Regions from separate parts of the Homo sapiens genome. Here all the other regions are linked to region 3. The links are contacts of gene promoters, found by promoter capture Hi-C in human tissues and cell types (Jung and others, 2019). All regions are on one chromosome and are shown on one strand. Each heading gives the region's core, a stretch centred on a gene start or on the middle of the fragment in contact. The rest is flanking DNA. Distances are from core to core; before and after follow the strand shown.

Evidence for each region. Contacts are between HindIII fragments. The study calls those that stand out against the background at their distance.
Region 1: a contact is called between a fragment that was not itself captured here and the fragment with the promoter of NKX2-8 in region 3, in 2 of the 25 tissues and cell types used here (mesenchymal stem cells and mesendoderm cells).
Region 2: a contact is called between a fragment that was not itself captured here and the fragment with the promoter of NKX2-8 in region 3, in 4 of the 25 tissues and cell types used here (dorsolateral prefrontal cortex, mesenchymal stem cells, small bowel and 1 more).

The regions. Positions count from the first base shown.
Region 1 is chr14:37,138,125-37,141,188 of GRCh38, reverse strand. All of the region lies in intron 1 of SLC25A21 (solute carrier family 25 member 21), which reads left to right. Among named protein-coding and RNA genes, the nearest start is that of SLC25A21-AS1, 32 kb to the left of the region's middle. The HindIII fragment of the contact is 4,758 bases long and covers 1-3,064 here.
Region 2 is chr14:37,108,551-37,111,250 of GRCh38, reverse strand. All of the region lies in intron 1 of SLC25A21 (solute carrier family 25 member 21), which reads left to right. Among named protein-coding and RNA genes, the nearest start is that of SLC25A21-AS1, 62 kb to the left of the region's middle. The HindIII fragment of the contact is 3,481 bases long and covers 1-2,700 here.
Region 3 is chr14:36,581,243-36,583,975 of GRCh38, reverse strand. It overlaps NKX2-8 (NK2 homeobox 8), which reads left to right and starts at 1,362. Exons shown (of 2, transcript NM_014360.4): 1 at 1,362-1,743; 2 at 2,512-2,733. The coding sequence starts at 1,587. RefSeq lists an enhancer at 1,971-2,733. The HindIII fragment of the contact is 13,278 bases long and covers 1-2,733 here.

The DNA.
Region 1 (3,064 bases), core at 73-2,572, 560 kb before region 3:
AAGGTGTTAATTATTAAGTTCCTAAGATTTTTTTTTCTTTTTTTGAGACAGTGTCTCTCTCTGTCACCCAGGCTGGAGTGCGGTGGCGTGATCTTAGCTCACTGCAACCTCCGCTTCCCTGGTTCAGTGATTCTCCTGACTCAGTCTCCCAAGTAACTGGGATTACAAGCCTGCACCACCACGCCTGGCTAATTTTTGTGTTATTTGTAGAGACGGAATTTCGCCATGTGGCAAGGTTGGTCTCGAACTCCTGACCTCAAGTGATCTACCCGCCTCAGCCTCCCAAAGTGCTGGGATTACAGGCGTGAGCCTTACCGTGCCCAGCTCTAAGATCTTATAAAGTTAAAAAAAAAAATGGTACCACCAGACTTAACTTTTCCAAAGGGATTTCTTAGCCCCCAGTCCTTTAACTGTATTTTCAAAAGAGAATTTCTCTGTTTCAACATACCACATATTTTGGAAGCATGTTATTTCAATTTTGAGCTTCTTCAAAAGAATGTTTTTATAAATAAATACTTCATATAACATTCAGTATCTGTTTTTCTGCATATACAATTTAACCTAGATACATTGTTGATGATCAAAATGATTACACTAGTTTGCTACTGCTAGTTTTACAATAAATTTTTGTGTTTATGCTCTCGTTCAATTCTCCCAATACCTCAGTGAGGGTGCAGGGCAAGGATAAGCCTCATTTTATAGGTGGGAAAACTAAAGCAGTGTATTAGTAGGCAGTTCAGCAGAGCCAGGCAAAAGTTTTTGGTTTTAGTCAGATGTTCATTTCATCAAGTCATTCATGCATTTACCAAGAATTATCAAGCTGCAGATATGTGTCAGATGTGGTTCTAGGGAATGGATATCCAAAATTAGTAAGTCATAGTTCTTGCCCTTAAGGAATTACACTCAGAGACCTGTGAATACATTTTAAAGTTTTTATCCTGTATCTACCAAGGCAGAATATATGATCTGAAATTGCCATGGCCAAAGTTAGCAACTTCGGGATATAAGCAGAAAGAAGAAATGCAGTGAGGTGGTTCAGAAAACCATAACTACCACCTACAGTTACAGTTTGCAACAGCCAACTAGATGTGAGACAAACCTGGACATTAATATTCCTTGCAGCTGGGTTCTTTGATGATTTCTGCAGCATTAGGGGAAGCTATGGTGTTTTTCTAAGAATGTACTATTCAGTGATGCTTTAATTTTATTTCCTCCGGTTCTTCAACTGCTAATGTTCATTTTAGTTTCGGCAGAAATTGCTTTGATGATTAAGCATTGTGGTTTATTTTTAATGCGTATTCATCTCAAGTATTTAGCTGGTTTCTGAAGATATCCTGTTGGTGAATTAAATGCTCATACTTACCAGACACAAGTCAGGTGTAGAGTTTAATTAATCATTTAAGAAATACACTGACTTTTTGATGATTATAAAGTCTTGAAGGGAATGTACTGCCTTCACTGTCTTTTGTAATTAGCTACATTCTTTTATTTTAAAGCGTAACATAGGAGTCAGTTAAATGGATAGAACTATTTTAGTTCTTCTTGAAGATTCATAGTGTTGCCCTAAAGGAAGGAAAGTTCAGGAAGAAAATTGTGTTATTCATTTTTCAGTTACTGAGTGGAAAATTTTATGTCTTGAAATTTTTCCTTGAATATTTTACTATTGAAAATATATGGAGGGATAAAGGTATCAGTTTTTTTTGTGAGTAAAAATTTAAGAGTATAATGTTGAAAAGTTGAAATATAAGCATTGTTATGCAGCAAATAAACGAAATATATCTCTTACTCTTGTATGAAACTATTTTAACTTAATGTCAATAAAGTTTAAATTAGTTCAGACTTTTCTTATTAGAATAAATGTTCCCTTTTAAAATGCATGATAATCATAATCAAGACAGAATTTGTCCTGTTATTTATTTTCAAAATGATTGTACATGTTTAGCAGACTTTTGATTTAAATCCCCAGTGATATATTGGAGACAGATGTTTAGATGACCTCATGTTTAAAGTAATGTTACATTTGGACACAAGATTAAATTTTCCTTAAAATCTTTCCCTATAAGTTAAATGTGTGGTAGTATACAAAAACTAATCAATGATTTGTGATGGATTAATGCGATTCCTGTATTTTAAATAAAATGTTCTATCTTTTATGGAATTCCACGTAGTACAAAAGAGCTGATTATGAAACAGCTGTTTACAAATGAAAATATTGTTTTTGGCTGGCCAGCTAGATGGGAAACAGATTTCAAAAGTTCCATGAATTTGAATGCAAATTTACCATATCATTTATACTGAACCAAAGAACATTAGTAAAAAACTGCAACACAGTTTACCAAAAAATTCAGTTGAAGACTATTTTTTAGGATAGAATATAAACATTTAAAATAGCTTTTTCTTTTTCAGAACTAATTTTTTCTTTATGAAAATCAATGTAATTATAACATGTTAGTATATATAGAAGATTTTTAAGGAGCTCATAAATAATATTTAACATTTCAATGAAGGAAAATTAGCAGTTGGAGGTATTAGAAATGCATAGGAAATTGAGTGGAGTGAAATAGATAAAAGATAAGAGATATTGTCCAAAGACAATAAATTAATGTATATGAACAAATGAATTTAAGGCAGAGCTATATAAATATTAACAGACTGTCATTTCTATCAGCAGCAAGAATGCTATATACTAAAAATCACTTTGCTATGGAGATTTTAATTGAAGAAAACATGGTCTACAATGAAAATCTTCACATTTTCTCTCAAATTTTAAACAGTTAATAAGAATTATTTGTTTTGGAACTTAGTTTAAATAAAAATAAATGGCATAAAGGCCATATCTTATAAATTTTGAATATGACTCCCTTAAATGCCAAAGTATATACTTTAATCGAGGTAAGTAAAACTTCTAGAACTAGTGTTTGTTGTTTTTCTTTTTCTTCGTATCTTTTATTGTCTTTCTCCTTGCCTCAGTTTTCTGAAAATGGGATCATATTTCTTGAGTTGCTTTTTAAATAGTCACCTGGGAATAAATGCGTGTTTAGGGGTGGGATATTACATCTGGCTC
Region 2 (2,700 bases), core at 53-2,552, 530 kb before region 3:
CTTGCTGCCTTTTTGTCCACAGCAGTGTCATTTTATCAGTTTAACAGGTTGAATTCATTGGTAAATTTGGTTAAAAAAAGGATTCTCATTCTAACAAAAGTTTAGAAACCTTCAAACCTTTAATTTAGAAACCTTTCTTACTTTATAAGAAAACATTGAGGCATTGAGAGAAGGCATAATTTTTCAAAGGTTTCAAAAGCAGAATTCATGTCTTCTCATTCCTGGGCTAGGTATTATTCCACTGTATTTTGCATTAACTTGCTCAATAGCATTATGATATCTGTGATTTTTTTTTTGTTGCTGTTCAAAAAATGAGTATTTTTTTCCTCCTCTTTTTTAGAGCGATAGAATAAGGTTTGGCATAAAATAGGAAACCAGACAAGTTCTTCCAATAGTTTATAGTCTCTTCAAAACCAAGTAACAGGTAAGAAAAGTGCTGGTTCAAGCAGGCTATTCCTCTGTCGTGAATATTATGTTATCAGTCATTGATAAACAGTTGTCTGGGAGTGAAAGAGTTTCATTGCCATGAATTTAACTGAAAATAGTGAGCGCAATATGGTGGTCCCTTATGAAACCAAGTTATAGTGCTGGGGAGGTTGTCTAGGTGGAGTTGACCCTGGCTTACTGCAAGGACTGGGTGACCTGGAGAAAAATGAGTTAGAAATGACCTAATTGCTCTCTCTCCTGTGCTCTTCAATCCAAGCAGGCAGTGCCTTCATTGTATCTTTATTATAACTTGTGTCTGTACTTGCTAAATTTTTGCTTCTGAGAAATCAAAGAATACAAAGATTCCTTCATGCTTGGAAGAGGCTGTGTTTTCTATATTTCAAGTGGATGTACTTAGTACTCTAGAATGGAATGATACTCACCTGTTCTCCATAAGCCTATTAGGTGATTTTGGTAAATGTGAAAGTTGCCTTCATCCTGCTATTTAGTGGCTTATTTTACATTTAATAATGAAGCAAGTGCTCAAGGGACTAGTTTTCTGGCTAACTAATGCCTCTGCAAACCAATGCAACCTCTTAACATAAAACATAAGTAGTAGAAGTTCAGAGGAAATGAGCTCTTGTGTTCCCTCGAGCATGATTAGAAAGTCTGAAGTAGTGTTCACAAACTATTGTTTTACAGCAATTATACATTTTTTTCACAAGTATGAAACTGTTCTTTATGGAAAGCACAGGTCAACTTAAAGTCAGAAGCTCTGGTTCTTGGAATACTATGATGTTATAAAGAGTAACCATAAACTATTTTAATAACATTGTAATAGTTTACATTCATTATGTACATTTAAGCTGCAATTTAGTTGTGACATGCAATGTTAATAATTTTCTCATCTTTGTGGGAAACATAACTGGAAAATATTACTCATTAAATATTTCCCCTTTTTAAATCTTACTTTATAAAGACCTCAGGTTATCTATAGAAAAGAATTGGTCAATGTATGGCAGTTTTGCAATGTAAAAAAAAAGTTTTAAAGGACCAAAGATATAATCTTCTCATTATTTCTTATTCCGAGACGCCTTAGGAATCATGACAAAGTCCAGGCCTATAAAAATTAGGCGACTAGATTGTGCATGGGCAGTTAATTAGAAGTAGAGCTAAAGCTAGCACATAGGTCTCCTGACTGCACAACATCATTCATTAATACTTTCGCAACCACTCTCTGTGACAGGTAAAGATAAAAAAGATTTTTTAGAAAGCCAAATTTGTATTTATATAACTTGGCTTTGTATTTCAGATTCTCATGACTAACAAAACAAATTTCACTGAAAAAAGAAATTACATAAATGCTACAAATCTGGCATTTTTATGTTTTTATATACCAAAAAGGTTTTCTTTCCTTTCCTTTCCTTCCTTCCCTCCTTTTTTCTTTTCTTCCTTTCCTTCCTTGATTCTTTCTTTTTCTCTATTTGGCCCGAGATTCATTGCTTAAATGAAGCAGGGTTAGTTGTTATGATGATCCCTTCACGCAACTTTCCAAAGCAAGGTAGAATCACGCACACCATCGTAATCTCCATCCTTGTTTCAGTCTGATGCATTTATTAAGCTCTTCCATTCACATGATGTAGTACTGCATGATCTACAAAGCTGTGCATTTCATGGGGATCAACTAATTGAAACTTCTGACTTTACAGTTAAGAGAATTGTAACAAAATTCTGCTGTTGCAAAGTAGGACAAAATTTTAAAGAAAAAATAAACACAACAAATATATTTAGTTTTCTTGCCTTATTTTCAATAAAGAGATGAGTACACTTAGTGAGCTGATAAATTAAAGAGGAGTAGGAAAGTAACAGGTTGTAATGGAACTGCAATATTTCAAAAATTAGAGTGTGGGGAGTAGGTGGATGGAAATCAGGGAACAGAAAATTGAAAACTGAGGAAAGGTACAAGAAGATAAAAAGAATATAATATATTTATCCATTTTAGATATTATGACTTGTCCTATTTTTGTGAATTTCCAGACTGAAAAGCCAAAACACAAAGGGATTGAGGCACACAACACACACACGCACACACACACACACACACACACACACACACACACTTAACAAAACTCACATCTTTTAATTCCCAGTATGTAGGTGATTTTCCTGAATTTCAACTCATTACTGTAGCAGCAAGGTCTCAATGTACTTCTTCCTTTGTAAAGTGAATCTATAGCTTTTCTGTCTGATAAATTACTTATCAGTACTAGCCTT
Region 3 (2,733 bases), core at 113-2,612:
ACAGGGCCGCCGCCGCCGCATCCGAGCCAGGTTCGAGTTCAGCCCGGGAGGAGCCAGGACTTCTGGTGCAGCCACCCAAGTACAGAGCCCTTCGCTACAATTTAGCAACTAAATATCCAAACTACTAGCTTCAGTAGGAGAGGCCTCTGAGAGGGCGTTCCTCTGTAGATTGAAGCGCGGCCAGAGCTAGGCCATGGCCCAACAAAATGTATCCACGGCGGCCTGTTCCCTGCGCCTCCTACATTGATCATTTTCTAGGGTGGAACTGTGGAAACTAGAAGATCCCAGAGAAACCCATGGCCGGTGGTATTTTCTGCCGGGTAGGCCCTGTCCTAATTCTCCCGATCGGTCCATTCCCGGACCAAGGCGGGCAGCCTCGTCAGGGTCTGCCATGCTGCGAGCGGGGAGCGTAGGCCATGGGCAGGCTCCTGGGCAAAGACCAAAGCCCAGGCAGTGAGAGTGCCGTTGAGGCTATGGGGCCAAGGCGCACAGGCGGCACCAGTTCATCTGGCGACTCCAAGGAGGCCTCAAAGCCCTCACAGGATGCCCTGAGAAGCGCCCCCGCCCAGGGGCTCTAAAGCGGGCCTGGACCCAAATTTGTGGAGCTCGGCCTCCGAGCTCCGAGATCGGCAGCGGCCGGGCGAAGCTGGGCCAAAGAGACAGGCACTGTAGACCTAAGTAGCTTGGCTACAAGCCTCTTCTGTTTTGCCGGCCTGTGGAGACGTGGAGCTGGGGCTCCGAATGTTGTCCCAGCCCTTCCTCAGCACCTCTGAGGCTGTTAGGGGGATGTATGGTGTGATCCGAGGCTCCCAGCGGCCGTTGAAACCCCTGGGCCAATGCTGGCAGGGCCAGGCTAATCTTTACGCCCTCCTGAAACTTGTCATCCTGAATCTTAGAGGGGCCCAACCAAAAAGAGAAAGGGAGCGCGCCAGAGTTTAACGCCGCTTTGTAAATCACTTTCTGGATAATTGCGGGAAACTACCACTCCAGCAAACAAGCTCGAAGAATAAAGCAAACAGGGAATAAATTCCTGGGTGCTAATAAACCCACCCCTGCCACCCCCACCCTTCCCGGCGCTCCCGCGGGGCCTGGCCTCAAGTCAGCCCAGGAGGAGGAGGAGGAAGCTGGGGCTGGGTCAGGCGGGTGGTGGCCACCGCTCGCCACCCAAGATGTTATTCACTGGTAACAATCCCCATTATCTGTCCCCACTTTGGGCTAATCAGACAGAATCGCTAATGCCAAATGCTGCTTCCTGCAGCCTCTGGGAGGTAACTGGGCGCCAAGGGGCGGGGTGCGGGGCGGGGTGCGGGGCGGGGCGGGGGCGGAGGTGGCACCTTCCGGGCTCGCCCCGGCTCTGGTCCAGTGCTCATTCAGGTACTTAACACCCTGGAGACCCGGACCTCGGCTTTCAAAGCGGCCTGGGTGGGAAGAGCTGTTTATATAAACAGAGATTCCGCTGTAAATGCGCTAATATCCCGGCTGCCAGCGCATGGCGAGCGCCTCCCACGCCCATCCGTAGGAGCGGCGTCCCGGCCGCCCCTCCGTTCCCAGCCTGCCCTGCCCCCGCCTCCTTCCCCTCCTCGGCCATGGCCACCTCTGGACGCCTGAGCTTCACCGTGCGCAGCCTTCTAGATTTACCCGAGCAGGACGCGCAACACCTGCCGAGGCGGGAGCCAGAACCACGCGCCCCCCAGCCCGACCCCTGCGCCGCCTGGCTGGATTCGGAGCGCGGCCACTACCCTTGTAAGTGCGTGGTGGATTGCGGTGCGGGGTGGGAGGTAGGAGGCGTGGGGCAGCAGAATCAAGGGCCCAGCCCACGAGGGGCCGGAAAGCCGAAATCCCAGCCCAGAGTCTAGATTTCCTCAGTCTTGGAAACGGGAGCCCTGTCCTCGAACCCCTAACGCATTCATCCCGGTCGGCACATCCTAAGAGCAGATCCCTGCCTGGCACTGGTGCTCCGAGATTTGGGGTTTCTGTGTCTGACGATTTCTAGAGGTCGGAATAATTGAAATTTAAAACGCGCCGCCACCTGCCGCCCCCACCCCACCCCCCGCCCCCTCTCCATGCCTGAAAACACGGCCACGATCTCCAGGCCTCCGTCTGGGATGGCCAGTGTTGGCGAGTTTACCCCCACCCCGTTCCCACTCAGGGCTCCGCAAACCTCGGCACACTGCAGTGCAGTCGACCTGGAGGAGGCCGGCGCTGGTGACCCAGCTTGTGATAAACTGGTCGGCCAGCGCAACTACCGGTGCGGACATGTTAAGAGGGCCCCGGGGTGGGTTTTTTCGGGGCACGATCTCAGGCCCGCTGATGACCGCTGTGGTATGAATGAGGTCACCGCATTCGGAGAGGTGGATGTCCAGATGTGGACTCAGGAAATGGCCTCATCCCGAAAGTCTCGGGCTAGTGGGCGTGCCCTCTGGCCAGTGCCTCCACGCCCGCGCCAGAAGGGCAGCAGGCCCTCGTAGGGTCCGGCGTCTCACCCACCCGTGTCTCCTTTGCTGTCCCTAGCCTCGGACGAGAGCAGCCTGGAGACCAGCCCGCCAGACTCGTCGCAGCGGCCGTCCGCTAGGCCCGCGTCTCCGGGCTCGGACGCCGAGAAAAGGAAGAAGCGGCGGGTGCTATTCTCCAAGGCGCAGACGCTGGAGTTGGAGCGGCGCTTCCGGCAGCAGCGGTACCTGTCTGCGCCCGAGCGCGAGCAGCTGGCGAGCCTGCTTCGCCTCACGCCCACGC